Regions from separate parts of the Homo sapiens genome. Here region 2 is linked to region 1. Evidence: promoter capture Hi-C in 16 types of primary human blood cells and fetal thymus (Javierre and others, 2016). All regions are on one chromosome and are shown on one strand. Each heading gives the region's core, a stretch centred on a gene start or on the middle of the fragment in contact. The rest is flanking DNA. Distances are from core to core; before and after follow the strand shown.

Region 1 (6,128 bases), core at 794-3,293:
GCCTATTCTAATTTATACAGTGGGATTTTTTTTTCCCCCACAAACACTAAGGAAGTAGCATGTGGAAGGCCAGACCTTCTGTTGCCATCAGTAGGGGGGTTTCTGTAGTCTGAGGACCTATGAGCCTTTTGGGTTACCTTTGACTTGCACTTGGGCTTTTATGTTGATGCCAAGCAGTATGTTTATACTTCTCTAAAATGTATTTTTCTCTATATAAATAGTGTTTTTGTTAACTCTCACCGGCTCCAGTCTCAACTTTTGCCTCTAATTTTTCCCATAATATTCACTAACTCTAGTGATAGCTGTCTATGCGCATTGTACTGAGACTAATTCAGAGAGTGGGTTGGATGAACTTTGGTTTGATTTGTACGTAATTGTTAAAAACTGTGTTTAAGAAAACAGTTGTACCCTTGGCAAAACCTGGAAGTCTCTATGTTAACAATTTTCCCAATTTTTGTTTTAGGAAGCCATTCTGCATATTATGTTTTTAAATAAAAGGATTTGACTTTGGGCTGACAATTTAGCATTTAACCACTGTCTCCGCACCAGTTCCACAAGAGCAGGGATTTAGATTAATTGGAAAAACCTCATTGGTTTCTGATGGAGGGGGCATTCATAGAAACAACCTACTGACAACTAAGGAGCTACTGCGATGGGATGGGCAGCCTGCAGCTTCACTCGGTGGGCAGCCTCCACAGGTACTTTAATTCCTCGCTCTTCTGGCCAGGCATCTCTTGGTAAAGGCAGGTAGAGGAAGCAAAGCAATTACCTAGATAATTAAGGAAAAACAAACCTGTATGTGGCAGGTAACTTGGGGAGCTGCTTCTGATTTTCTAGGCAACTATTTTCATTCTTCACTTCTCTGGTGTCAGCAGGAATCTGAGCTAGATCCCAAGAGCAACTCGAACAATTACAATGCTCTCAGTTGGCAAACCCGGCTTCATAGCAACTTCCCTCCTCATTGATCTAGAGTTTGAAATAGCTTTGTCAGATCTCGGGTGTGTTCCTGCTGATTTATGGCAAAATCCCAGTAACAGCTGTGAAAATGTTTGTCCATTTGTGAAACTTCAGAAAGCGGGTCTAGCAAATCATTCTCACCTGGTGATTCTGGGGCAAGGTGAGAACTGTACCCTCACAGGCCGGGTGAATAAGATTCTAGTTGCGGTGGAGGCCAAGGAAGAAGATGTACTATGAGTCAATCTCTCTATGAGGCATTTGCTGAACCTTCCCCTCCTACACCTTCCTACAAGGCAGGTCCGATGACTTTTACTTTACAGATGAGAAGATGGAGCCTCCACAAGGCACATAGCTGGTGAGTGACAAAACCAGAATTCAAACCCAGATCCATTTGATAGTGACATTTGTTTCCACTACCCTAGTGGCTCTGGGGGAAGCCAGGACACCCATATTTTTGTAAAGTCCCGTAGTTGTTTCTAGTGTCATCCGGGTTGGAAACTGTATATTAAGTCAGTGGTTCTCAAACTTTAGCATGCATTAGTATCCCCTGTTAGGCTTGTAAAAACACAGATTGCAGGCCCCACACTTAGATTTCTGACTTGGTAGGTAGGTCTGAGTTGGGAACCAGGAACTTGCCTTTCTAACAAGTTCCCAAGTGATGTTGATGCGGGGGCCTGGGCACTACACTATGGGAACCACCACCGCATTAAGGTGAACTCAGAGCTGAATCTGACATGAAAATCTGCATTAATGGAGATGACATCAGATATCTGCAAAGTCACTTAATAGAGAACGGTTGAGACTAAGTCTTGACTAATATTAAAACTAACACATCTAAAAAGACTATGTCCATCACAGGTGGGTGGTCAGAATAGAAACATTACATAATGGGAAAGAAAATGTAGCTGATGCTATTCATCTAGAAGGAAGAAGTGATGTAAGGGTCAGTTTCCACCTTTGCTTTGAATTCCTTGGACAGCAAGCAACCATATGAGCATTAATTTGATTTATGTTTTTCAGGTATCGTATCTGATTTCAGATACATATGATGGTCTCAAGTGTGTTTTTTACCACCACCACTTTGTAGGCCTGTTGATGCCACTGCTGTTGAAGTCTATGTGAATGGTGCCCCCTGGTGGAAGGAAAAAGGTAGTTTATTACAGTCCGTTGTAAATGAGTGACCTAGCGTTGTTATCATGCTCTGCTCCTAGAGACCACTCCACTCACCTTAAACTAGCGAGCCTGAGGACCGGTCCCGGGGACCCATGAGAACATGATCTCCGAGAGCCCTGCCCTTGAGAAAGGTTCTCCTCAGCAATACTCCAACTCACCCCAGACCTAAAATTTTTTTTTTTTTTTTTGGAGACAGAGTCTTGCTCTGTCGCCAGGCTGGAGTGCAGTGGCATGATCTTGGCTCACTGCAACCTTTGCCTCCTGGGTTCAAGCAATTCCCTTGTCTCAGCCTCCCGAGTAGCTGGGACTACAAGCGCACACCACCTCGCCTGGCTCATTTTTTGTATTTTAGTAGAGACGGGGGTTTCACCATGTTGGCCAGGATGGTTTCGATCTCCTGACCTTGTGATCTGCCAGCCTTAGCCTCCCAAAGTGCTGGGATTACAGGCGTGAGCCACCATGCACGGCCCTAAAATTCTTAAAACGTGAAAATGGGGGAAGATGGTTAACACATCCATATGCTATCATGATATATATCTTTCTTCTTAGTTGTATGGGATGAAATGATGCCAAGATTTTCCTTACAGAGTAGGGATTGTGACTGAAGCCTTTGGACAGGTATTTAGGCCCTTATGAGTGTCCCCTCTTGTCTAGAGAATGGGACGCCAGGAATGTCAGATGCTTTTCAGCCTCTCCCCTGCTCTCACGCCTAGAAACAAGAGCTCCACAAAGGTCTCTCATTCCTCAAGGCTGATGAAAAGCCCAGCAGCTAAATGGCCAGAAGCCTGTCTTTGTGAGAAAGCAAGAAGTCTCTCGGTTTGAACTCTTCGGTCTAGAGACAGATTCTTCTACCAGTGGTGTAAAACCCTAAAGAGGCTCTGCATAAGACCTACCACTGCTCTGTGTCTCATGACACCCTGCCCCCACCACTGGAAGGCCACACTTATTCTTTGTGTTCATGCTTCTCTATGATCTGCAAGTTTCCCAAGAACACCTGGATTCGAAGCTCAAGTCCACCGCTAAATAGCTATGTGACCTAATGTGTCAGATGGTTATAAGGATTACAGAGAAAGAGGTATAGATAGAGCTGGTAGCAGTGACAGACACATCTTTACATCATATAATTCTGACATGCATTATTATTGTAGTTTTCTGTTATTCAGACATACTTGTTAAGAAGGTGCTGGGGACAATTTGTACATGCTGGGTATGAAAGGGCTTGGAAAGTATTTCATGAATGGAGTTGGCATTGAGGAGTCCAATCCATGTACAATGGGTAGAATTAGAAAGGCATTGAGGATAGTGTATTAGTCTGTTTTCAAACTGCTGATAAAAACATACCTGAGAGTGGGTAATTTATAAAGAAAGAAGAGGTTTAATGGACTCACAGTTCCATGAGGCTGGGGAGGCTTCACAATCATGGCAGAAGGTGAAAGGCACATCTTACATGGCAGCAGGCAAGAGAGAATGAGAGCCAAGGAAAGGGGGAAACCCCTTACGAAACTGTCAGATCTTGTGAGACTTATTCACTACCTTGAGAACAGTATGGGGGAAACCGATTCAATTTTCTTTCACCGGGTCCCTCCCACAACACATGGGAATTATGGGAGCTACAATTCAAGATGAGATTTGGGTGGGGACACAGCCAAACCATATCAGGTGGTTACATAAGAGATCCAGTAGAGAGGTGGGAACTCCAGAGGAGATAACTCACCTGGAAAGTAGGCAATCAGGAATATAGGATCCCAGTATGATGAAAAAAAAGGGGCTGTGGGTATGGGAGGCATATCTCAGAGAGAAGAAACACTGCTGTTCATGCCTGTGAAACCCAAGGTTTCCCCTTCCTCTTAAGGGTTCTCTCCCTCTAATGAGAGTTGTTTACACTGCTGATTAGAGACTATTAAGGTCTAGAAATCAATTTGTGTGGGGTTGTGGCCAGCATTTAAAAAACAGAACAGAATATGAAATATCAATGTGCATTGCACATAGTGAGTAAATATTACTTTATGAAACTTTAATCAATTACACATGTACATGTTTATAGGGGTATGATGTAAAGTGTATCATTCCTATGGGTCTTGGTACAAGGAGTTGAGAGCTGCGTCTCTAGTGAATCTACTGGGGTGGGGAGTTTTCTCATGTCTGCTCTTACAAGGTCCTCTTGACTATTTACTTTCCAGGATGGTTTTTCCCCATCAGCCTTTTCTGAGGGTCTGAGTCAGTTTGGGCTGCTATAACAAAGTACCATAGATTGTGTGGCTTAGAAATTACAGAAATTTATTTCTCATAGTTCCAAGATTAGGATGTGAGCATGGTCGGATGCTGATGAGGACCCTCTTCCGGGTCACAGCCTGCCGTCTTCTTGTATCCTCAGAAAGAGAGAAGAGCCGGGCACGGTGGCTCACACCCGTAATCCCAGCACTTTGGGAGGCTGAGGCGGGTGGATCACTTGAGGTCAGGAGTTCAAGACCAGTCTAGCCAACTTGGTTAAACCCCGTCTCTACTAAAAAATACAAAAAATTTGCTGGGCCTGGTGGTGTATGCCTGTAATCCCAATTACTTGGGAGGCTGAGGCAGGAGAATTGTTTGAACCCGGGAGGTGGAGGTTGTGGTGAGCCAAGATCATGCCACTGTACTCCAGCCTGGGCAACAGAGTGAGACTTCATCTCAACAAAAGAGAGAAAGAAAGGAAGGAAGGATGGAAGGAAGGAAGGAAGGAGAGAACTCTTTGGGGACTCCTTTATAAGGTCACTAATTACAACATAAGGGATCCACCTTCATGACCCAATCACCTATCAAGGCTCCTCCTCCAAATACCATTGCATTGGAGGTTAGAATTTCAACATATGATTTCTGGAGGGACATAAACATTTAGTCCATAACACTGAGTTAAAGCAGGTACCTATTCACTCTCCTTCTAGTCGGGGCCTGGAGCACAGGCCACCTTCTGATGCACTGTTGCCACCTCTGCAAAGTCTGAGCAGTGAGGACTGGGTGGAGGGAGGTTGAACATGGGGAAGCTGCCCTTTCTCTCTTTTATTTTATGACCCAGCCTGTTACTCATTTCGAACTTGATATTAAAGCTGTACCAAATTTTATTACAGTGTTTGAGAAACTATAAGAGAAAGAATTTTTTTTTTTTTTTTGAGACTGAGTCTCACTCTATCACCCAGGCTGGAGTGCAGTGGCATGATCTCAGCTTGCTGCAACCTCCACCTCCCGGGCTCAAGTGATCCTCGTGTGTCAGCCTCCCGAGTAGCTGGGACTACAGGCGTGCACCACCACACCTGGCTAATTTTTGTATTTTCAGTAGAGATGGGGTTTCACCATGTTGGTCAGGCTGGTCTCGAACTCCTGACCTCAAGTGATTCACCCACCTTGGCCTCTCAAAGTTCTGGGATTACAGGCGTGAGCCACTGTGCCCAGCCTAGAGAAAGAATTTAAACCTATCTGCTTCATTCTACTTTTCCAGAAGTCCAAGGAAAGAGTGTCCTGGAATTTAAACCCTTGGCACGGGTCACTTCCTAGATGCTCCTGGTTCATCATTGTGCTTCCCTGACCCCAGGGCCACACCCTTTGCTGCAGAAGGACATTTTTTCCAACTTGAGCCCTGCAAACATTTATTTATTTTGTGGGGAAGTTCTACTCTGTACCCACAGAGTTTCATAAATTTTTAAATCCACTTCTGAGTATTTATAAAAAGCCAGTGAAGTTTTAAAAATCCATTTCAGATCCAATAGATTCCCCTTTACCTCCTCCCACCTCTGCAGAGCCCTGATCATGCTTCTCCATGGGGACTTAGAGTTGGGAGAAGGCTTGATCTGCTTTTTCTCTCCTTACTCCCCTCTCTCGGGACACTCTTCCCTTTGAGTGGGGAAGAAAGATGGAAAGGGATGAAGCCGTCATTCTGGATGATAGCTTTCCCTTGCTTGTTGCCTCTTTGGCTGAGATAGACCCAGTGGGGGTGCTCACTGATGGTGGGCGTCCCAGGCTGGTTC
Region 2 (5,691 bases), core at 660-3,159, 340 kb before region 1:
CTTGGGTGGAAATTATTTGAAATATTAGAGAATGGAAATGTTTAAATATGTTTAAGAAGAAAGCAATTTAAAATTTTTGTAGTATGTTTTAAAATACCATCACTTTCACAAAGCTAAAGAATGCAGTATTATGAGAAGCTTTTACTTGGACGTTTGCACAAGCACAAACATTGTAACATAGAAGACTTAAGAATCTTTACCCCTTTGTTTTTCTTGCTTGTGATATTATAAGGCATATAGTGGAGATAGGGACGCTAAGAACAAATTTCAGATAAAATTGTAATAAAATTTTGGCTATGAATTTGCATGAAAATAAATGTCAGTCTGGTATGTTATAGATGCTGCATTGTAACATCATTAAAACAGATTTTTACGTCTTAAAAATCATTTTCACAGTAGTCTTCACTGAATGACATCTTTTTTTTTTTTTTGAGACGGAATCTTTCTGTCGCCCAGGCTGGAGTGCAGTGGTGTGATCTCGGCTCACCACAACCTCCGCCTCCCAGGTTCAAGCAATTCTCCTGCCTCAGCCTCCCGAGTAGCTGAGATTACAGGGATGCACCACCACGCCCGGCTAATTTTTGTATTTTTAGTAGAGACGGGGTTTCACCATGTTGGTCAGGCTGGTCTCAAACTCCTGACCTCGTGATCCCCTTGTGATCCGCATGCCTCAGCCTCCCAAAGTGCTGGGATTACAGGCATGAGCCACCGTGCCTGGCTTGAATGGCATCTTTCAATTGTAAAAGTTGTTACTTTTGTCTGGCTAACACGTTGAAACCCCATCTCTACTAAAAATACAAAAAAAAAGTAGCTGGGCATGGTGGTGGGTGCCTGTAGTCCCAGCTACTCGGGAGGCTGAGGTAGGAGAATGGCATGAACCAGGGAGCTGGAGGTTGCAGTGAGCCGAGATCCTGCCACTGCACGCAGCCTGGGCAACAGAGCGAGACTCCGTCTCAAAAAAAACCAAAAAACAAAACAAACAAAAAAAAGTTGTTATTTTTGTTAGTGTTATTCTGTATTTTAAAATATATGTAAACAATCTTTTGACTTCAATGTTATAACCAGTAAAGTAAAACGTTTGGAGTATTTCATCATACTACTTATATGCAGCCATAATTCTGGCTAATTTTATTAATAATAAACCAGAGTTAATATGCATAGTCTTCTTCAGGAAAACAGAATTTTTACGTTCGGTTTCTTTAATAGAATAAGTTGGCAGTTACACACTTTGATTCCAGGAATTATTATTTGTCTCCCCCTTTTTAGTTGTCATTTTGTCATTTTTCATCTCTGATTTTTGGGTCACAGGTGTTACGTATGTGATAATGAGGTCCAGTATTGTAGTTCAAACCAGTTGGGTCAAGTGGTTGATTATGTCAGAAAACAAGCCAGCATTACAACTCCAAAGCCAGGTAAAATAATTTGTTTCTTTAATATACACCAAATGTCGATTTGTGTATCTGCTGATACTTAGATTTGTTATACTACCTAGCATTACATACAGCTGAGTAACATTAGTTATGGTTGATTGCAAACTATGAAACTATTTTTGGTTTAACTATAAGGTATTAGAAGGGATATGAGAAATGATCTAGTCAGATGTGATGAAGGCCATAGACTAAGGTAATGGCCATTAATGCTAAGACTAAGGTAATTCCCATAACCCTAGCCAGGCTTACTATAGACCTGCCTTACACTGTTCTTACTGTCGTACATTTTGTAATAGCAAGATTTCAGTCTGTCTGCTGGGATAACATAAAGCATTTGTGATTCCTTCTAATGGTCAGATATTTCTTAGGTTCTTTCCATGCATAATTAAATTAATTGGCTGACATACAGCATTTGCTTTAAGCATGTTTTTTAAGTTTTTATTGTCACAAGTATCTTTGTCAGAGCCAGAATTATTTGTTTTTTACTTTAGGATTGATTTTTGACCCACAGAATTCATTAAAAAATTTATTTCATGTCCATGTTCTTGATTGTTTTATATTCTTAATTTCACAAGGTAAGATGTGTTCATTTGTAAAGAATTTTCGTGCAGTAAAAAAGGGAGATTTATACCAAAGCACATACTGTTTGGTTTCATTTATCAAACTAATGCTTACTTTAGGTCTGAGTATTTTTTGTTTACTGGGTTTTGTGTTTTTTTTCTGGATGGCAATTTACCTGTATCTATTTAAAATCAAATGGGTGGGTGGGTTGGAAAGAATGACTTCAGGTAAACTCACAAACTCTAGTACTGTTTCCCAAGTATACTTCTGCATTCGATATGACTGTATTACACATTTTGCTAAATCTTTTCTTTTTTTAAAGCAGAGAAAGATAATGGAAATATTGAACTTGAAAATAAAAAATTAGAAAAAGAGAGTAAGAATGAACAAGAGAGAGAAAAGAAGGAAAACATGGCTAAAGAGAATCCTCCCATGAATTCTCCTTGCCAAATAACCGTGAAAGGACTCAGTAATTTGGGAAACACATGTTTCTTCAATGCAGTTATGCAGGTACATTGTCATTTTTTTCCCTTTAAAAAAGCTGTCCTTTTCCTCATAGAATCTGCTACTTACATTATTGAGTTTTTTCCACCTGAGTAATTTATTTCTATGTATCCAAAGAAAACTTTTTTTTTTTTTTTTTTTTTTTTTGAGACAGGGTCTCACTCTGTCACTCGGCTGGAGTGCAGTGGCACGATCGTGGCTCACTGCAGCCTCTACCTCTTGGGCTCAAGCAGTCCTCCTACCTTAGCCTCCAGAGTAGCTGGGACTACAGGCATGCGCCACCACTCCCAGCTAGTTTTTGTATCTTTTGTAGAGACAGGGTTTCGCCATGTTGCCTAGGCTAGTCTTGAACTCCTGGGCTTAAGCCGTCCACCCCCTTTGGCCACCCAAAGTGTTTGGATTACAGGCGTGAGCCACCATGCCTGGCCAAAGAAAACTTAAGGAAAGTTTTATTGCATGACAGTAAGAGAGTTTGGTGAGCACTCGGGTGCAGTGGGTTTGAAAGAAATATTGCTGCTTCTTTCATGGAGCTTGCACTTGGGTGGAGGAAACACAGGATAACCTCATATAGAAGCAAATACGTACCTACAGGTAGTGGTAAGTGGTTGTGAGAGAGTCATGGTGGAGGATTGGGGATAGCTACTTCTGATTGGGTGGTGGGAGAATGCCCCACTGAGGTGATGAATAAGCTCAGAACTGAAGTAGTTATGACCCAAATAGAGTAGGGAGAGAAGCATCTGTAACTTTTCATTTTCCAAGTATAGAGTTTTCAGTGTTGGTCATGATTTTCTGTTTTGATAGAATAGACACTTAAGAAGTGTCAGAGTTGATTTGCCTTTAAATAATTTTTCTCTTTTTTTTTCACCCTACATTCTAGAACTTGTCACAAACACCAGTGCTTAGAGAACTACTAAAAGAAGTGAAAATGTCTGGAACAATTGTAAAAATTGAACCACCTGATTTGGCATTAACAGTATGTTCTTTAAACTTTTCTAGTCTGTAACTTTCCTCTCTGAATGTGTGTTTTCTAAATTATTTTAAATAACTGACACTCATTTCCACTGTTTTTGTTTGTTTTGTTTTACTTTAGGCTACTAACTTAAACAGTTTCAGGCTAATAGAAGTTATAAGGAGGCATTACATCTGTTTGCTGTGTGTGTGCTCTGTTTTTCTATGCTCGAGTGTTAAGCTTCCTTCTTGGGAATGTGTATATGTTTGAGAAGCCTTAGGCTTACATTATTATTTTTAACATCTTTAAGGTGACTTAAGAGCTGTGTAACCAAATAAATATTACCTTATCCATTTTTATTATTTACATTTTGCTTTGGCTCTTTCAATTCTTAGGTAGTAAGTGTTCCAGATAATCTAAAACTAAAATAGTAGAGCTGAATTCTGCATAAGACAGTCTGTGACCAAACAGTTTCTATCTCTTTTGATGTACATTTTAAACTTTTAAATGGGGCAGTTCTGTCAGGAACATTGGTAGTATATGTTAACTAATTAGATTTTAGTAAAGTCAGTGATTCCAGAATTTGACTGAAGAAAGTAATTTCTTTTCCCATATTCAGGAACCATTAGAAATAAACCTTGAGCCTCCAGGCCCTCTTACTTTAGCCATGAGCCAGTTTCTTAATGAGATGCAAGAGACCAAAAAGGGGGTTGTGACACCGAAAGAACTCTTTTCTCAGGTCTGTAAAAAGTGAGTATCCACTTCGATTGTGCTTTCAGTGCCTCAGTGAGATGCTGAGAAATAATATTAATATTAAATAGTAAAATATAAAAATATTAATAGCATTACATTTAGTCAACCCTCTATATACAAAAGGCATAGTTTTTTTTCATTTGGATTTTAAAATATATTTTATGTGATAGTTAAATCTCCCAAGGGTGTTAATGGACTAAACGGAAATTTGTAGAAACCAGAACTCTCTGAGATTTGGGATATGATCCTAAGATTTTCTAAAAATAGCTTCAGAGCTTAGTAGACTGAAGATTGCTTTTCTGTCTTTTTGTTTTTCTCTAGAGCAGTGCGGTTTAAAGGCTATCAGCAGCAAGACAGCCAGGAGCTGCTTCGCTACTTATTGGATGGGATGAGAGCAGAAGAACACCAAGTTAGCATGTTATGACCATTGTATTTTATGATCTTATCTTCATAAGCTTTCTGTCTCATTTGATATCTTACGAGTTAAAACAATGAAAGCTAGTTATTAAGGCCATCATACTTTAAAATTTTTTCTTACACCAGCTTTTTCAACTAGTATGTTTTCACCATTAGAATGAATCCAGAGAATTAGCAGTAATTCTCTTTCTCATGATGGCTTAAGTTTAGTTGATGTTTACAGCATTAATGTTCTTTAAAGATTCTGTTGTACTAACCTATACGAAGAGAGCTGCCAAATATTGGAAATTGTTTCTCCCAAACCCAGGTGCAGCACACCCTTACTTTTAATTCTGAGTCTGATTTAATACTGTTTTTTGAACCTAGGAAGTATTTTCATTTTGTAAGAGTCAGGGAACATTGGTTGCATTTTAAAATTTTTGTTACTTGCCAGGATATAAAAAAATGTATTTGGGGTATGAATTAATGAGTACTAATAATAGTGATAATAACTAATATTTATTTCGCACTTATTTTTATGCCAATCACTGTTTTCAGTGTTTTGTATTAATTCCCTTACTTCGTTCTCACAAAGTTTCTGTGAGGTGGATACTGTGATTTTTTCCTATTCCATAGATTGAGAATCTAGGCTGTAGAGAAGTTCAGTACCTAGTTTAAGGTCCCCCAGAAATAATGGAGCTGGGCTTTAAGCACTGGAGTCAGACCCTGTGGCTGTCATGTAATCATTGTGCTTGTAGGACAAGCTATTTCAGTTTCTTCTCAAAGGTGGTGGGCATGTTCTGAAAACCTTTGGCTTGAAGAGGTTTAAGATCTTGAAATGATAAGATAATACCTTTATTCAATGGTTAGTGATTGCTTTGTGACATAATTCCTTTTTAGCTCCTTGAATTAAGTTTGAAAATGTGATTTTGGAATTATTTAGTAAATATGGGGAGCTGTATCCTGATCACTTTCTTGACTTGATTACATATTTCTAAGGAAAATAAAATTTAAAATTTAATAGTATATATATATCCATTTTATTACTTTTAGAGAGTGAGTAAAGGAATACTTAAAGCATTTGGTAATTCTACTGAA

The links. The method cuts DNA at HindIII sites, captures the fragments that hold promoters and counts their contacts. A CHiCAGO score of 5 or more calls a contact.
Region 2: a fragment that was not itself captured here is called in contact with the fragment with the promoter of BACH1-IT2 in region 1 in 1 of 17 cell types (neutrophils); the score reaches 6.5 in neutrophils.

What each region holds. Positions count from the first base shown.
Region 1 is chr21:29,370,458-29,376,585 of GRCh38, forward strand. It overlaps BACH1-IT2 (BACH1 intronic transcript 2), which reads left to right and starts at 2,044. Exons shown (of 2, transcript NR_046564.2): 1 at 2,044-2,106; 2 at 2,785-3,523. The HindIII fragment of the contact is 7,280 bases long and covers 1-6,128 here.
Region 2 is chr21:29,034,963-29,040,653 of GRCh38, forward strand. It overlaps USP16 (ubiquitin specific peptidase 16), which reads left to right. Exons shown (of 18, transcript NM_006447.3): 5 at 1,309-1,412; 6 at 2,314-2,501; 7 at 3,373-3,468; 8 at 4,064-4,194; 9 at 4,519-4,606; 10 at 5,647-5,691. Among named protein-coding and RNA genes, the nearest start is that of USP16, 13 kb to the left of the region's middle. The HindIII fragment of the contact is 3,546 bases long and covers 137-3,682 here.